6 separate regions of the Homo sapiens genome follow, and all the other regions are linked to region 2. The links are contacts of gene promoters, found by promoter capture Hi-C in blood cells and fetal thymus (Javierre and others, 2016). All regions are on one chromosome and are shown on one strand. The core of a region is centred on a gene start or on the middle of the fragment in contact, and the rest is flanking DNA. Distances in the headings are between cores, read along the strand shown.

What was found. The method cuts DNA at HindIII sites, captures the fragments that hold promoters and counts their contacts. A CHiCAGO score of 5 or more calls a contact.
Region 1: a fragment that was not itself captured here is called in contact with the fragment with the promoter of FIP1L1 in region 2 in 2 of 17 cell types (M2 macrophages and monocytes); the score reaches 5.6 in M2 macrophages.
Region 3: a contact is called between a fragment that was not itself captured here and the fragment with the promoter of FIP1L1 in region 2, in 9 of 17 cell types (total CD8 T cells, fetal thymus, naive CD4 T cells and 6 more). The highest score is 11.4, in total CD8 T cells.
Region 4: a contact is called between a fragment that was not itself captured here and the fragment with the promoter of FIP1L1 in region 2, in 1 of 17 cell types (total CD4 T cells). The highest score is 5.1, in total CD4 T cells.
Region 5: a fragment that was not itself captured here is called in contact with the fragment with the promoter of FIP1L1 in region 2 in 7 of 17 cell types (total CD4 T cells, naive CD4 T cells, non-activated CD4 T cells and 4 more); the score reaches 8.8 in total CD4 T cells.
Region 6: a fragment that was not itself captured here is called in contact with the fragment with the promoter of FIP1L1 in region 2 in 1 of 17 cell types (monocytes); the score reaches 5.4 in monocytes.

Annotation. Positions count from the first base shown.
Region 1 is chr4:53,918,111-53,920,810 of GRCh38, forward strand. No RefSeq gene overlaps it. Among named protein-coding and RNA genes, the nearest start is that of CHIC2, 150 kb to the right of the region's middle. The HindIII fragment of the contact is 1,124 bases long and covers 784-1,907 here.
Region 2 is chr4:53,376,233-53,378,932 of GRCh38, forward strand. It overlaps FIP1L1 (factor interacting with PAPOLA and CPSF1), which reads left to right and starts at 1,409. Exons shown (of 18, transcript NM_030917.4): 1 at 1,409-1,691. The coding sequence starts at 1,607. LOC105377654 (a long non-coding RNA gene) reads right to left here and starts at 1,508. Exons shown (of 3, transcript XR_007058118.1): 1 at 1,427-1,508. RefSeq lists enhancers at 1,127-1,675, 1,477-1,566, 1,617-1,736, 1,676-2,224 and a silencer at 1,897-1,986. The HindIII fragment of the contact is 4,469 bases long and covers 1-2,700 here.
Region 3 is chr4:54,016,578-54,019,277 of GRCh38, forward strand. The region is part of intron 3 of CHIC2 (cysteine rich hydrophobic domain 2); the gene reads right to left. Among named protein-coding and RNA genes, the nearest start is that of CHIC2, 47 kb to the right of the region's middle. The HindIII fragment of the contact is 724 bases long and covers 933-1,656 here.
Region 4 is chr4:52,738,408-52,741,107 of GRCh38, forward strand. No RefSeq gene overlaps it. Among named protein-coding and RNA genes, the nearest start is that of ERVMER34-1, 12 kb to the right of the region's middle. The HindIII fragment of the contact is 1,069 bases long and covers 885-1,953 here.
Region 5 is chr4:52,721,846-52,724,545 of GRCh38, forward strand. No RefSeq gene overlaps it. Among named protein-coding and RNA genes, the nearest start is that of SNORA26, 9.9 kb to the left of the region's middle. RefSeq lists silencers at 148-287, 468-517 and an enhancer at 678-977. The HindIII fragment of the contact is 6,089 bases long and covers 1-2,700 here.
Region 6 is chr4:53,992,066-53,994,765 of GRCh38, forward strand. No RefSeq gene overlaps it. Among named protein-coding and RNA genes, the nearest start is that of CHIC2, 71 kb to the right of the region's middle. The HindIII fragment of the contact is 1,209 bases long and covers 779-1,987 here.

The DNA.
Region 1 (2,700 bases), core at 96-2,595, 540 kb after region 2:
CTACAGCCTTTAAGAAAGGCACATACACTTGAATATTCATAGCAGCACTATTCACAATAGCCCAAAGGTAGAAACAACCCAAACGCCCATCAAAAGATGAATGGGTAAACAAATTGTGGTGCTTACACACAATGGAATATTAATTCAGCCGGTAAAGAAGAACGAAGTAATGATACATACAACAATAAGTAGAGCCTCAAAACGGTATGCCAAGTGAAAGAAGCCAGACACAGAAGGACAAATATCATGTGATTCTACTTATAGGAAATGTCCAGAATAAGTAAATCTGTAGAGACAGAATGCAGATTGCTGGTTGCCAGGATGGTGGGAAGAAGAGTGGAGAGTGGCTGCATAATGAGTGCAGATGGGTTTTTATTTTGGAGTGAGGAAAACAGATAGAAATGGTGGGTTGCACAACATTGCAAATGTACTTAGTGCCACTTAATTGTTCACTTTAAAGTGGTTAATTTTATACTATGTGAATTTCATTTCAATTTTTTTAAATGCACACGCATACATTTGTCAAGTAATCCTTACATAAACCCTGTAAGGTAGATATTGCTACCATTATTCCCATGAGAAAACTGAGCCCAGAGCTGGAAAGGGACCTGACCAAGGTTCCACAGGTGCTAGACTTGAAGCCAAGGTCAGGTTGGCTCCAAAGCCTTGGCCCTTCTGAGCCACCAACCACTGATCCTCTCAGAGCTGGGCATGACCTCAGGAGAACCAAGGGTGGCTGGAGGCTGTGCTCAGGAGAGAAGAGGAAGGGTCAAAGTCGGGAAAAGCTTTGAGGTCTCTTTGCGGTTCCAACTTAGCATCAGCAAAACTCAGTGTTTCTACCTTTTTGCTCCTGGTACTTTGGTTCCATCGTATGACTGAGTTACACAGGCTTGATCTTTGTTCCTCTTGACTCCTTTTTTCTTCCTTCATTTCTTTCTTTCTTTTTTCTTTTTTCTTGAGACAAAGTCTTGCTCTTTCACCCAAGATGGAGTGCAGTGGTGCCATCATAGCTCACTGCAGCCTCAAATGTCTGGGCTCAAGCAATCCTCCCATCTCAGCCTCCCAAGTAGCTGGGACTACAGGCATGCACCACCAATCCAGGCTCTTGCCTCCTTACATCAAAGAACAGCCAAAGACGGCTGGGCGTCGTGGCTCATGCCTATAATCCCAACACTTTGGGAGGCTGAGGTGGACGAATCACCTGAGGTCAGGAGTTCGAGACCAACCTGGCCAACATGGTGAAACCTCATCTCTACTAGAGATACAAACTTAGCCAGGCATGAAGGCACAGTCCTGTAATACCAGCCACTTGGGAGGCTGAGGAGAAGAATCACTTGAATCCAGGAGGCAGAGGTTGCAGTGAGCCAAGATCATGCCATTGCACTCTAGTCTGGGCAACAAGCACAAAACTCAAAAAAAAAAACCCAAAAAAAACAAAAAAACAGAACAGCCAAAGACCATAGATAAGGGGTGAGATTGGGGACTGGGAGAAGAGGATAAAGAGTTAGAATACTACAGAACACTAGACCACAGGCCCTAGTCTCCTATTTCTCTATCCTTCCTTAAAATGTCTGAAGTCTTTGACTCAGCAATGTAGCACTTGAGTGACTTGAATGTAAACATATTTTGAAAAAAGAGCATATTTTAGGGAGTTCCATTGCAGAAGATTTGAATGTGGTGTAATTCAGCTTGCTGGGAGAGGCGGGGTGGCTGGTGGGTGGATAGAAATGGAAAGATGGAAGTGAATGTGGCAGACTGACACAATAATAGGGCTAATGATTTCAACATTTTAAAAGTTTCACAGTTCCGAGGGAACACAGGAGACGAGCTCCAGTGGGAGGCTTTTAAAATATCCACTTTGACAGTTTCTGTACTTTTTGAGCTTCTTCTGTTTGTTTCTTCCCCAAAGCTTATTAGCACCTCTGTTCTATTTAGGAGACTCTCCGCCACCTTAGTATAGGGAGGAGAACTGGCTCCAGGGGGCTGAGCCCCCCACCGCCAGTGATAGATCTCTCAGGAATAGAAGATTTGAGTCCTGGGAGCCTGTCAAGGACTTTTCCTCTTGAAAAATCATGAAGCTTTGGTCCGCAACATTGTTAAAGGGCTTTAGAGGAAGCAGAGTGTCTCCTTCCACACTCCAAGTAGCCCAAAGCAACTGTGCCCAGATGGTAAGGACTTCCTTCCTAGCTGGGGCGGGCGGCAGCTGGGATAAACACTCATTTAAGCCACTCAGTGCTGTCCTCACTGCTTGCCCCAGGAAAGGGCCAACCCGGTATTTCTGGCTGAGTCAGTTGGGCCTCTCCCACCCATTCTTCTGAACCTCATTCACATCCAGAAAGAGGAGGCTGGAAAATTTGAATATGCAAAAGACCCAATGACATTGCCCTCAATCAGCTCAATTAGTGTGGTTGTGAATGAAGATATGAAGATCAAACAGGTCAAAGGGAATGTTTACAAATGTATCAGCTACCTGGTTTGCAGATCCCTTTGAACAGCTCAGATTTTGGTGCAGTTTCTATAGGTATTAAAACAGGAAAGATTAATTTAATAAGTGACTAGAGTAACATCTGGGGGAAAATTATATTCAGCTGTATGAGATAAAGACCATTGTAGAAGCATTTTCTTCAGGCACGCTCTGCTTTTTCTTTTGAAGGGCTCTCTTGTGCCTGATGTTTTATATATAGTATTAAAATATAATGG
Region 2 (2,700 bases), core at 159-2,658:
GTTACAGAGTAAGACTGTTTTTTAAACAAAACAAAACAAAACAAAACAAAACAAAACAAAACAAAAAAACAGGCCGGGCGTGGTGGCTCATGCCTGTAAGCCCAGCACTTTGGGACACCAAGGTGGGCAGATCACCTGAGGTCAGGAGTTCAAAACCAGCCTGGCCAAAATGGTGAAACCCCCTCTCTACTATAAATACAAAAATTGGCTGGGCATGGTGGTGCGTGCCTGTAATCCCAGCTACTTGGGAGGCTGAGGCAGAAGAATCGCTTGAGCCCAGGAGGTGGAGGTTGCAGTGAGCAGAGATCGCACCACTGTACTCCAGCTGGGCAACAGAGTGAGACTCCGCCTCAAATAAATAAACAAACAAACAAAAAACCTAGACAAACCTAGAGCTCCAGTTTGAACCATGGTATGTCATCTTTTCACTGGAAGATGTGCTTTCAGAAGCGGCCTGAACATTTGGTTTACCTATTAAAATAAAAACTGTACATACTTTATGATCTATCTTTGAGAAACAGACAAATCTGCAAGGAGCCGTGTGGATCTTCATTGTCATTTTTTGTTGTAGTTAAAAGTGTAAAGTCAAAAGCAATCTGGGTGTACATCAATGGAGAAATAGCCATATTCACTCTGTGATAGCCATACTATGCAATTTTATGAAGCACTTAAAATAGATATAGTTTGATTCATACTAAAATGAAAAAGAGCTCCAAGACACGGATGCTAAAAAAAAAGAAAAAAAAGGAAGTCGAAGGATGATACTATACTGTACTGTACTATTTAAGACTTGTCAATCTCAGGTTCTCCCACCAAAACAGCACAACACATGAAGTAAGTGTATAGGAAATTTCGGAATGATGAACTCCAAACAGGATATGCATCTGTAGCAAGGGCTACCTCCGGAGAGAAGGGTAGGGGAATGAGGCGGTCTTTGACCTTGACAGTAATTTATGGTTTTTAACAAGGAGAGTGCATTCTTCATCTATTAGTTTTGCTTTTGTTGGCTGTGAAAATTAATTTTTTGAGAAATAGTACTGATTGTGATTTCTTCTCTATTCAGTGAGGAAAGGGAGTGACAGGTAATGATTCTGTATCAAGGCTGATTAAAGAATAAAAGAAGGCCTTTCTGAAGATTAAAAAACAAATAAAAAGTTGAGAAGAAAGAGCACGAAGAGTAGAAGGGAACAATGGTGTACTCGCCAGCAATGGCAATACGGGTTATTAAAAAGAAGGGTGGGGGCGGGGAACCCTGGCCGACTCAGGACGCCACGGGAGGAAGCCACGCAAAATAGCAAACCGGGATCCTAGAGGGGCGGGGCCCACCTCAGCGCGCAGGCGCAACCAGGCCCAGGTGGCCGCCGCGGAAGCGAAGCCACCTATACGCGCCGCGCCGCTTGGGTCTCCTGCGCATGCGCAGACGGACCTGCGCTGGAGGCTTCATCTTTGCCGCCGCTGCCGTCGCCTTCCTGGGATTGGAGTCTCGAGCTTTCTTCGTTCGTTCGTCGGCGGGTTCGCGCCCTTCTCGCGCCTCGGGGCTGCGAGGCTGGGGAAGGGGTTGGAGGGGGCTGTTGATCGCCGCGTTTAAGTTGCGCTCGGGGCGGCCATGTCGGCCGGCGAGGTCGAGCGCCTAGTGTCGGAGCTGAGCGGCGGGACCGGAGGGGATGAGGAGGAAGAGTGGCTCTATGGCGGTACGAAACTTCCTGTCTCTGTCTCTCGGGTTCTCTCAGGCCTCCCCTCTTGGCCCTCAAACGGCCGGCGTCCCTGGCCTCTCGCGCCGCCGCTTCGGGCCTCTGGTTGGGAGTCCTGTCCGGCCTGACTTAGGCCGAGCGCGGCGTGCGCGTGCCCCCAGTCCCCGCGGCGGTCTCCCGCCTGGCCCACGCCCACCATGCGCATCCACCCCTGTGGCGGCCGGGCCGGGCTGGGGGGCTGTGACCGGTCCTGGCCCCCGGCTTCGCTGTGCTTTCCCCGAGGCGTCTCGATCGCCTAGCTGCTGCGCTCTTTACCCTTGTTTTTTTCTGTCGATTCTGAGGTGGTGGTTTTTGGTGTCTGTTTTTGCCCTGTGGCCTTAGGGTGCCCTTCCTGTCCCTTCTTTCAGAAACAGTCATTCTGTAATAATAGCTAAATAAAGTTAATGCTGTACAACTAACGTCTTGTTTCTTGATGGTCAGTTTGTATGGAATGCACCTGCAAGGGTACCTCCTTGTCTGAAAGTCGTGCTTTAAAAATAATTAATTAAGAGAGAGAGAGAGAAAGATGGCCCATAAAGAAAACTCTGAATGTCTCCTGTATTAAGGTGAAGTTATTCTTTTTTAAGAGACTACCGTTTAACCTACATCATGGAGGTATCTCATGACCCTTCGGCTTATAGTTTTCAGTGTCATCTCATGTATTTGTTTTTCTCAAAATAAATTTAATGCATCATGTACTTCTCTCTAGAAGGGTACTTGTTTGACATCTGGTTTTTAACTTTAAGTCACAATCCCTTCTTGCTTGTTAACACCAGATTTGAAAGTTAATGTTTGTTCCTTGCCTAAAACATATATTCTTGATTGTCTTTAGAATAGAATAGTAAAAGTGCACTTTGGGCACCATGCAGGTCCTTGATGATGTGACTTTGATAAACTTGTAAAAAAAAATCGTTTGGTGGCAAGATTTAGCATTAGTTACTACTCTTTGAAATGTGAATGTGTAGGATTT
Region 3 (2,700 bases), core at 45-2,544, 640 kb after region 2:
ATAAAATATTTCTACACACTTCACAGTCTGAAGTAAAAGCTGTGAATTAGCACCATCTAATTTTGCTATAAGACTTCTTTCCTGCTTGACAGGTGAAAAAAAAAGCACTTGCACGTGCAGCTTAATTAATCATTGCACTTGACATCTCAATGATTTACAGTGAGGAGCAGGTGAGAACATACAAAACCAGAAAGGAACCCTTGATTTGAGTGGAACATTTCTAGCACACTAAGGTGACAAGTATATAGATTCTAGCAGTCATTTAAAAAAAAAAGGAAAGAAACTGTGCCACAAATTATTTGTTAGTAACAACAAAAGCTCAAATTAAATAGAAAAAAAAAAGGTTGAGCTACTGAGAATGTTTAATACTATGCAATTATTGTTAGTTAAGAAAATCAAAATATATTTTCAAGATTAAATACAATACCAATTTGGCAGATACTAAAAAAAATGACACTTCAGCATTTATAAAAGCTACTTAAAAGCTTTTAAAAGAAAGCACTTTATAATTGTAGTCATCTAGATAAAAGTTAAAGAGTTTATGTCCACAAGGCTGTCAGGTAGCTATTTCTAATGAAATGTAAGATTCAACAGTGTCGAACTCTACACTTGCTAACTGTGGACAAGCAAATCTAATCATATAACAACCTGTCCTTGGTTTTTAAATGTTTATTTCAACTCCAAATTCAAAACAAGCTGAAGCAAATTAACATGCATCAGAAAAAAATATGTATGGGATCTGTCAACATGAAACAAAGTACCAAAAAACACCATCTTTCAGTATTCCAGGCCAGTTTCTAAAAAAATAAGTCATCTTTAATTTTCTTTAAGAGAATTTAGTGCTTGTGAAAAGCACCAGATTGATAGTCATGGGAACTAAAAATCTATTTAGCTGAAAGAACAGGGGAAGGGGCAGTGCAGGCTTTAGTGTAAGCTTCCCTACAGTGGGCCTTAATCCTTTTCACTGCTCACACCCTGGGGGTGAGGGGACAGGTTAGCGGTTCTTTACCAATGTAATTCTCCGTCTTTCTGCAAAAGATGATCAACAAGAAATGTAATTTTATCAAGTATTCTTATCTTTAATTAAAAGGACCAAGACCACCAACTCACAATATGCAGGAAAAACAACTTTTTTGTGTGAATGGCGTCATGTTACTAACCTGGTCTGGAAGTAGACAGCTCCAAGCATCTGGATCCCACCCATCTCCCTCAGCTCACTTTAAATAACCCTTTTTCTTTAAAAAAACAAAAACAAAAACAAAAACAAAACACACATTTCTTCATTTCCACACCTTAGTGGTTATATTTTTCTCATTGGTGAACTAGTTTTAATACAGCCATTCAGCTTTGTGAAAGTAAAAATTAACAGGAGATTTAAAAAATATCATTTCAATTACTGAATAGGTATTAAACAGACTTAAGTTGAGCAACAAGTAGTAGTAACATAAGAATAGAAATTTTGGCTTCTATTTATATTGCCTTTGGTCCCTTTTAGATTTTTGGTAGAATTGTGAAAATAGGAAAAACATGAAAACGGAAAGAGAACTAAAAGGGCCTCAGTAATTCATAAAATGGCTAATATGGTAATGATTAATCAGCAATATTAGATAAGACATACCCAAATAAGACATACCTTCCAAAGAAGCATCTAAAGTAAGCTTATAACAGCAAAGCACACATACACCTAGACAAACTCAATTACTGCAATAGAAAACTAAGATTTCCTGAAAATTCAAATTTGAATTATTATGTATTTTTGTAATTTTTCCTAAATACTGTAACTTTCTTAGGAATAAATTATTAATATTATTCCCTATAAACAAATTAAATGCCATTAGATATAAATTAGTCTTCCAGGACAGCAAAGAGCCATTTAGAAAATCTTTAAGGTATTAATCTCCTACTTTGCCACCACTGGTTACTTAAGAGTTTCCTAATTCCCAATGACTCATTTAATCACAATCAATTGTTTGAAAACATGGTTTTACAAAGAAGTGGTTTTCTAGACATTACTAATAAAACCAATGGAAATCTCATAAATTTTAGAGTATTGAGAGCTAAAGAAAAAAAATGTTAAGTGTAGAAACTGTAACAAAGTTTATCTTAATATTTCCCAATAAAATAGTATTATCAGTCTTTAGAACAAAAATATGCTATGATATGCTAATAAAATGTACAGAATACTCACTAATAACTATTTATAAAAGTTCACCTATTTAAACCTATAATTAAAATGTATTTGAATTGGATTTATTCATACCATCACAAAATGGGAAAGCAAAATTTCAAATGTTCAATTCCCTACTTAAATTTTAAACTCTTAAATCTATAATGCATTAATTAACCTTTAACTAAAATGTTTTGAATATATTCATAATCTTGTTTTTAACTTATATTTTTCAAATAAGAATGCTATTCATCTTTAGACATCTGTGTAAATTGAATTTGTTAAGTAAAACAATGTCTTTAGCTGTAAGTTATTAGGGAGAAACCATATATAATTTAAAATGAATTATTTTAACATAAGAGAACTTAAGAGGAAATTATATTATTCACTTCTGCTCATTCTGGATTAATATGAAATTTTATATTCCAGTGATGTGCAGAAAATTAAATAATTATATCACAGTATTATGCTACGTGAAAAGCCTAGATTCACCAAAAAACAAAAAAAAACTAGAATATGATTTCTCAAAAGGA
Region 4 (2,700 bases), core at 169-2,668, 640 kb before region 2:
CAACCATTAAGACTGGCACTGCACGATGTGTTAAGAAGTTTATAGACCATTTATTTGGCAAAAGGGTTTTTTGAATATCTTTGTAGAAATTATTAGGAAGACAGAAGGTATGAAAGGGCAGAGTATTTCCTTAAGATACATTTCCTGTGAAATTACTCTGCCAATGAAAATGAAATTTTAAATATCCTATTATACATGGTACATTTGCTTCAACCTTTCTGAAGGATAGTTTAATACAGAAAAAAAACTCATTAAAAAAGGCAACTAGGTTTAACATACATAAACTATATATGTATATATTTACACATCTGTTTAATTTGAGGATGTAAAATACTATTACTTTTTAAAGCTTTTTACTCTGAATTATATATTTAAAAAAAAACAGTGCAGAGAGATTCCACGTAGCCTTCACCCAAATTCTCCCAAGTGGAAGTCACTATAGCACAAAAACAAAACTAGAAAATTGACATTGAGCTGTGTGTGCCAATATTACATCATTCTGTGTCATTTTGTCATGTGTAAATTCATGGAACCATCACAACTCAGATATAGAATTATTATGTCACCACAAAGATCTCACTCAAAAAGTGTTATGTCCTAAGGCTTTCGTTTGGAAAACAGAAAAAAAAATCATCCACATTTCCTCCCAAACAATTATTTTTATTGCATATATTCCCTCACAGTTGTAATTACTGTATATCATAATATTTTCTTAACAGCAAATGCACATTTTCTTCACCTTTGACTTTGTACACCTCTAGGTTTTGAAAGCAAATCGACCCATGCTGCAGGATTATCACAGGGTTGTTGCCACCCCTGAAATATTCCTTGTGGTAGTACTGATTGCTGGTTAAGATGGCTACATTTAAATACTCATCTTCTGAAGCTTTCTGTGGAGAAATTAAAAAACATATATCTTGTATAAAGTCATAGATAACAATCAAAAGAATAAAAAGTATTTGTTCTTCAGTAGTCCATCTGTGTAACTATCATTAGAATTGTATGAGGAGCCTAGCCCAATTACTTTTCATGATTTAAGTGAATTTAGCATTTTCTTGTTGCTTGTACTTTGTATGTAGATTCTCTAGATGCCAATAATGATGGGTTAACTTTTAAAGAAGTGAATATATATACACATATGTGTATATACCTATATATAAATTGAGGAGACGATTTAACTTTTGAAAACGATGTCTTGACTGAATACTGCAAAGCCAAAGACAAAAAAGCAAACGCTGTATTCTAATTGGTTACTTTGTTTCTCATAAAGGGACAGGTTAGCAATTATGTAACTATGTTATGTAACTAGTTTACACATATAGTAGAGTTTAACAAATAAGCAAATAAATCTTAGCTAATAGGAGACAGGTTTCTCAGCAACAGAAAAGTTACAAATAAGCAAGGGGTAAGGTGAGGCTAGAATGAATCCTGTGGTGCTGAGAGTTGGAGATATCAGTATAAACTCGTTTATTTCAATAAACTGTAGGTATATATGTATAGGTATCTGTGTATACATACAAACATTTCCTAGCTGTGTCCACTGAGGGGGCCTACACAGTGATAACCTAGTAGCAGTAGCAATGAGCACATCTTGTGCCCAGATCTTGGTTTCTAAAACCATTTTTCAGTACAGGGAACAATGGTTTCTTGGGAAAAAAAAATCACTGATTCTAGGGCTGGGCAGGAAAAATAAAAGATGAGCTTGCAGCATATTGGAGCGCTGGAGAGTAAGGAAGTGCTGAAAAAAAAAAAATAAGGCCAAACAAACAAAAAACACATAGGGAGAGGCATGTCAAAAGGAAACAGGAACAAATTTTCCAAGAGCTCTCAAAGGCCAAAGCTGCAACACTTTGAGCAACAGTATGATAGTACTGGATTACAACCCAAAGAACAATGTATATATCCATGAGTCCACACTGATAAAAAATATTGGATAACAATTTTCCTTAAGTAAGCTTCTAATTAATAAATGTATCAGGAAATAGGAAGGTGAAACATCTGGTGAACCTTTGAGCTGGCTAATAAATGTTTTTGCCAACCAACCTATTTTGTGTTCCTTCTGATGCATAACAATGGAAAGAGGATTTTTTTCCCCTATGAGTTTTGAAAATCAGAAATACCTTTGTGTCCATCACCAGTAATGTTGAAACTATTTTCTATAACTTGTCATGCCCTACAAACCTTACTTTAATCAAATATTGTGCAGCTTAACACACCTCATAATCAGTCATGCTATTTGATGAAACTTTATCCTTTTAATAAGACATTTTCTAACATTCCAATGACTGCCCCTTTATTTCATATTTCCTCTTCACTTTGTATTCGTACTTGACATTGTGAAATGAGGACCAGGCCAGGTGCGGTGGCTCACACCTGTAATCCCAGCACTTTGGGAGGCCAAGGCGGGCGGATCACCTGAGGTTGGGAGTTCGAGACCAGCCTGACCAGCATGGAGAAACCCTGTCTGTACTAAAAATACAAAAAATTAGGTGGGCATGGTGGTGCGTGCCTGTAATCCCTGCTACTCAGGAGGCTGAGGCAGGAGGATCACTTGAACCCAGCAGGCAGAGGTTGCGATGAGCTGAGATTGTGCCACTGCACTCCAGCCTGGGCAACATGAGTGAAACTCCGTCAAAAAAAAAGGAAAGAAAGAAAGAAGGAATGAGAGAAAGAGAGAAAGAGAGAGAGAAAGAAAGAAAG
Region 5 (2,700 bases), core at 42-2,541, 650 kb before region 2:
ACAACAGGAACCCACCATTTAACTACGGCGGCTAATCCCCCAAGTATGGTAACATACTGTACTGCACCCCCTAAAAGTGTGTTACCAACAGGACCACAAACAAGTTTGCCCACTGTTTTTAATGCAAATGTTCCTTTCAAGATCGCAAACCCTTCAATACACAGGGCCTAATCCAGTCGCGCTTTACTACTACGGGTTACTCCCGCCAACTGGCAGGGGAGCCGCCCCGGGCCCCGCGGAAAAGGCAGGTGCGCGTGAGGGAAAGCATGAGAGCCCGGGCCGCGCCCACCTCGGCCCCAGGCACTACGGGTCCTGCGGGTCCCGCGGGTCCCGGATTCGAGGCGAAGCGGCCCAGAGCCTGCGGCTGCTCAGACCTCCTCACCGCGCCCACCTCCCAGCCACCTCCTGGCTCCAGGTCCAGAGCAGGAGCAGGACTACCGGGGTCCCTGGCACACAAGGAGCAGAAATACCTTGAGGGGCGGGACCAAGTAGCCCAGCGCTGGAGGAAGACCCGCACCCTCGCGGGAGTTCTGAGAGCCTTAGCAGGCCGCGACAACACTGGGAGACGTGTCTGCCAATCACCGGATGGGGGCGGTCCTGGGGGGGGGGTCATGCAATTGGCTAAGCACGGAGAAGCTCTCGTTCCATTGGCCATTTTTCCGGCCTCAAGCCCACCCCTAGGCCTGAATCCCCGTCGCGTTCCGCCGGTCTGCTTCTCGGCCGAAAGGCTGGGGAGGAGGAGAGGAAACGCCTGGGTTAGTTTTGGTTCCTTCTGCTGGCGCTCAGGCTGCTGGAAGAGTCCTAGACCTTCACCCGTGGTCCCTTGGGCCCGTTTCACGCCCACGTTCTGACATGTCCTGTGGTATTCTGTACCTCTGCCTTCTACCCTGTGTCCCACGCTGATCCATCCTAGGCAGGGAGAAGGCAGCGTCGCAGGGACAATGCCAAAATCAAGATATTTCTCTTAGAGCTTTCTAATATTAATACCTTATGTCTAGGTATGGTATACAATAAGCATATATATATTTTATAAATCTAAAACCACTCCCCCTCATTAAATCATCAAACTAGTCCCAATGAAGTAGGTACTGTTATTCCTTATTTTTCAAGCAAGGAAACATGAGCAGGAGGATTTAGTGATCGGCTCACGTCCTGTCATGTTTACTTCCTAAATATCAGCTGTATCCTGTCCTCATTCCTATTCCCTTGCTCTAATTCAGACCTTCATAATTGCTTGCCTGGATTAGTTCTACAAATAGCTCCCAACTCCTTTCCCGGTCATCCTCCAAAGCCAAAGATTAATCTTCCTAATGCAAATCTGATTGTGTCTCTTAAACCCTTCTCAAGCCTCTCAAATGTCAACTCCTTCTGTGGCACCTCATTGCCTGTAGGTTCTGGCAGAGACTGCTTTTTATTGAAATATAACATGACCACAGATGAGTACACAAAAATGCACATTCGGCTGAAATTTCACAAACTAATCACAGTCCTGCCACCAACAACTAATTTAAGAAACAGAACATGGCGGGGCGTGGTGGTTCATGCCTGTAATCCCAGCACTTTGGGAGGCCGAGGTGGGCAGATCGCTTGAGGTCAGGAGTTTGAGACCAGCCTGGCCTACATGGTGAAACCCTGTCTCTACTAAAAATACAAAAATTAGCTGGGTGTGGTGGCACACGTCTGTAATCCTAGCTACTCCGGAGGCTGAGGCAGGGGAATCGCTTGAACCCGGGAGGTGGAGGTTGCAGTGAGCGAGATCATGCCACTGCACTCCAGCCTGGGTGACAGAGCTATACTACATTAAAAAAAAGAAAAAAAGAAATAGAAAGAAAGAGAGAGAGAAAGGGAAGGAAGAAAGGGAGGGAAGGAAGGAAGGAAGGGAGGGAGGGAGGGAGGGACGGAGGGAGGGGAAAGAAACGAAGAGAAAGAAAGGAAAGAAAAGAAGGGAAAGAAAGGAAAGAAAGAAAGAAACAGTACACCAGAAGTATTTCCTTCCGGTAGCTAACCACTCCTTTTCACCCAAAGGTAACCGCTAGCCTGACTTCTAACAGCATAGAGCAGTATCCTTGTGTTTGTGCATTATATACATGTGATTTTTTGTGTCTGGTTTCTTTAACTCACTATGATGGTCATGAGGTTCATCCATATTTTGAGTATAGTCACAGTTTGCTCATGAGAATGCTGCAGTGCAGTCCATTTTGTGAATATACCACAATTTATGTATTCAACCAATTGTTGATAGGCATTGGAGTAGTCTACATTTTGGAACTATTAAAAATATTGCTGCTATGAACATTGTAATAAACGTCTTCTGATGAACATGATAAAAGATGATTGCATTTCTGTTCGGTGTATACCTACAAATGGAATTATTGGATCATAGGTTATATACCATGTTCAAATTTAGTAGATATTAAATATTTTAAAACAGTTTTTCAAAGTGTTTGAGCCAATTTACACTTATCAGCAACATATGAGTATTCCAGTTGTTCCACATTCTCATCAACACTTGGTATTTTCCATCTTTTTTCATTTTAGCCATTTTGGTGGGTGATAATTGTGCTTCAGGTGATTTTGATTTGCAGCTCCCTGATGATTAATGAAGTTGAGCACCTTTTCATCTCTTTATTGGCTATTAAGAAATAACTTCATGAAGTGTCTGTTAAAATCTGTGCCCATTTTTAGTGTCTTTTAAATTTG
Region 6 (2,700 bases), core at 133-2,632, 620 kb after region 2:
TTGATACGATTACAGAAAAGCAATTGCTAATGATAGGCTATGATAAATTCCCAAGATATGTGTTTATTAAATGTTTGATGAATGACACAGACCTGGAATCAGACTTTACCCATTCCTAGAAGGGTAAGTCGCTGAACTTAAGTCAATAATTCCTTTACAGAATTTCTGAGAGGACTTAATTATAATTTTTGTATAGTGCCTAAAATAGGACCTGGCATTGAACAGTCACTCAATACATGTTAGTTTTCAACTCCACTTTCCAAGTACAATTTCTCTTCCTCGTTCAGTTACTCAACAATCATTTCTTCAAAACAGTCTGTGCCAGGCACATACTGGGCGCTAAGATATAATAGCAAGGCTGATAAGAACCTGCTTTCATGGTATAGCAGGAGAAACAGATATTTTACAAATAACTAAACTTAATATTTATGTTCAGTTGTGATAAACACTGTGAAGACTGACCTAGGGAGATGTTGAAAACAGATTTTTAAAACTTTTAAACTTTTGTAAAAATGTTCAAAGAGAATCTGTTGTTAGAAGTTTAACATTCTGATTTAACTGTTTTGAATACGAAAAATACAAACTCAAAGTAAACATCTAAAATATAAGGCAAATCTATCCATATAGAAAAGGAATAAGAAGGTACTGACCAATGAAGTTGAAACAACACTGTCATATTAATCTCAAAAATGGACCAAACTGGCCTTTATTTTAGGGTCAGAATGCATGTGAGAGTTGGGCTCAATTCTTTTAGAATTGTTCCTTAGGATACTTCTTAAGCTTTAACTTTATGCCAGGCATTGTGCTAAGTGACAGAAAGAGAAAAGCAGCCCTTGGCATCCAGGACTTGGCTTGTTATTACCAGCTAGGCCTTGGTGTTCTCCTGTTGAACATAAACAATCTCACAGAAGACCATCAGTCAAGGTTACTCTGTGACCATGATGAAACAGAAAAGACCTCTTCACATCTTGTGTAATAAGACAAAAACAAAGTCGCAGTGCAAAGCACAAAATACTAAATATGAGTGACTGCTGCTTCTTTACAAATTACGGCTTTCACTTAGCTTCGTGTCTCCCACCTCCTAAATGAGATCTATTCAGACCAATCATAAAATTACCCCACTTCCTTACAGAATCGAAATCCAGTGCAAACTCTTGCTTGAATCCTTCCCAAATCACTCATCACAAGCCCAAATCCTGAAAGAAGGCCTTTCCAGCACTCAGGAATCCCTACAATGTATCTCTAGTTTCAACAAACAAAAAAACCCAACTTTGTTCAACTCCTTGTGTGTTCCTAGTGGTCTCCTGTGTTGAGTGGCATTACCAGTGGAATATATGCATTATATTGTGTAATCCTCATAAGTACTTCTTGAAACAGGTACTATTAACAAATCCATTTTACAAATGAGGAAATGGAGGCACAGAGCTGTTAAGTAACATTTCCAAAGCCACACAGCTGGAGAGTGGCAGAACCAGAATTAGATTCCAGTCTGACCCCAGTGAGATTCCCTGATAATGTTCCAGATAATTATTTAGAATTGTTAGTAGGCTAGTCTTTCAGTTTAACAAAGGGCAAAACAGTCTTTCTATACCTCTATTCCTTCGATCTTACATACTCTTTGGTCTCATTGCTAAACAGTGAAACAGTTGAGTTCTTTATTTAAGGAATTTTTACTTGCTAGCTTTACAGGTTAAAACAAATTAACATTGGAGCTTGCTAATTTTGGCTTATTTCAGGGTCAGAATGAGCTTCATCAATGACAGATTTGACCAGGTCCACTCACATTCTCAAAATCTTTCAATAGCTTCAGGCTAGAGTCAAAAAAATTTCAGCATGATACACTTGTCCCTTCTCCCTTTCCTGACCTTATCTCTTGATGCTTCTGCACAATTCATTAAACAGGTATTTTGTACCAGACCATCTCCCCATATTTTCCAATCATACAGAAATCATCAGTACTTTTTTAACACAGCCTTTTCATGTGTTAAGCTTCAACCCATGCAACCTATGACCTTTCCACCCCAAATATATTGCTCCTTTGAAGATCCACCCTATCACTTACTTTCCTTGATTATTAGCACTTTTCATACCATGTTACATGCTTATTCCTCCAGCCTCAACTCTTTAGAAACCAAAAGGCATTATTCTCTTTGCTATCCTTTATACTTGGCATGATGCCCGAGGTTGGGCCAAGCTTAGACCTTAGACCATTTCTTCACCAAATTCAAATGTCTCCCATTTCTTTAGTAATTGGTATGGTTTGGGTCTGTGTTCCCCCACAAATCTCGTGTTGAACTGTAATCCCCAATGTTAGAAGAGGGGCTTTGTGGGAGGTGACTGGATCATGGGGGCAGATTTTTCCCTTGCTATTCTGGTAATAGTGAGTTCTCACAAGATCTGGTTGTTTATAAAAATGTGTAGTACCTCCCCCTTCATTCTCTCTTCCTCCTGCTCTCGCCATGTAGGAAGTGCCTGCTTCCCCTTTGCCTTCTGCCATAAGTTTCCTGAGGCCTCCCCAAAAGCCAAGCAGAAGCCGTCATGCTTCCCGTACAGCCTGTGGAACTATGAGTCAATTAAACCTCTTTTCTTTATGAATTACCCAGTCTCAGGTACTTCTTTATAGCAGTACAAGAACAGAGTAACACAGCAACACATTTCTAGTTCTGTTACTGCACTCAAAAAATCTAAGTTTAATAAATT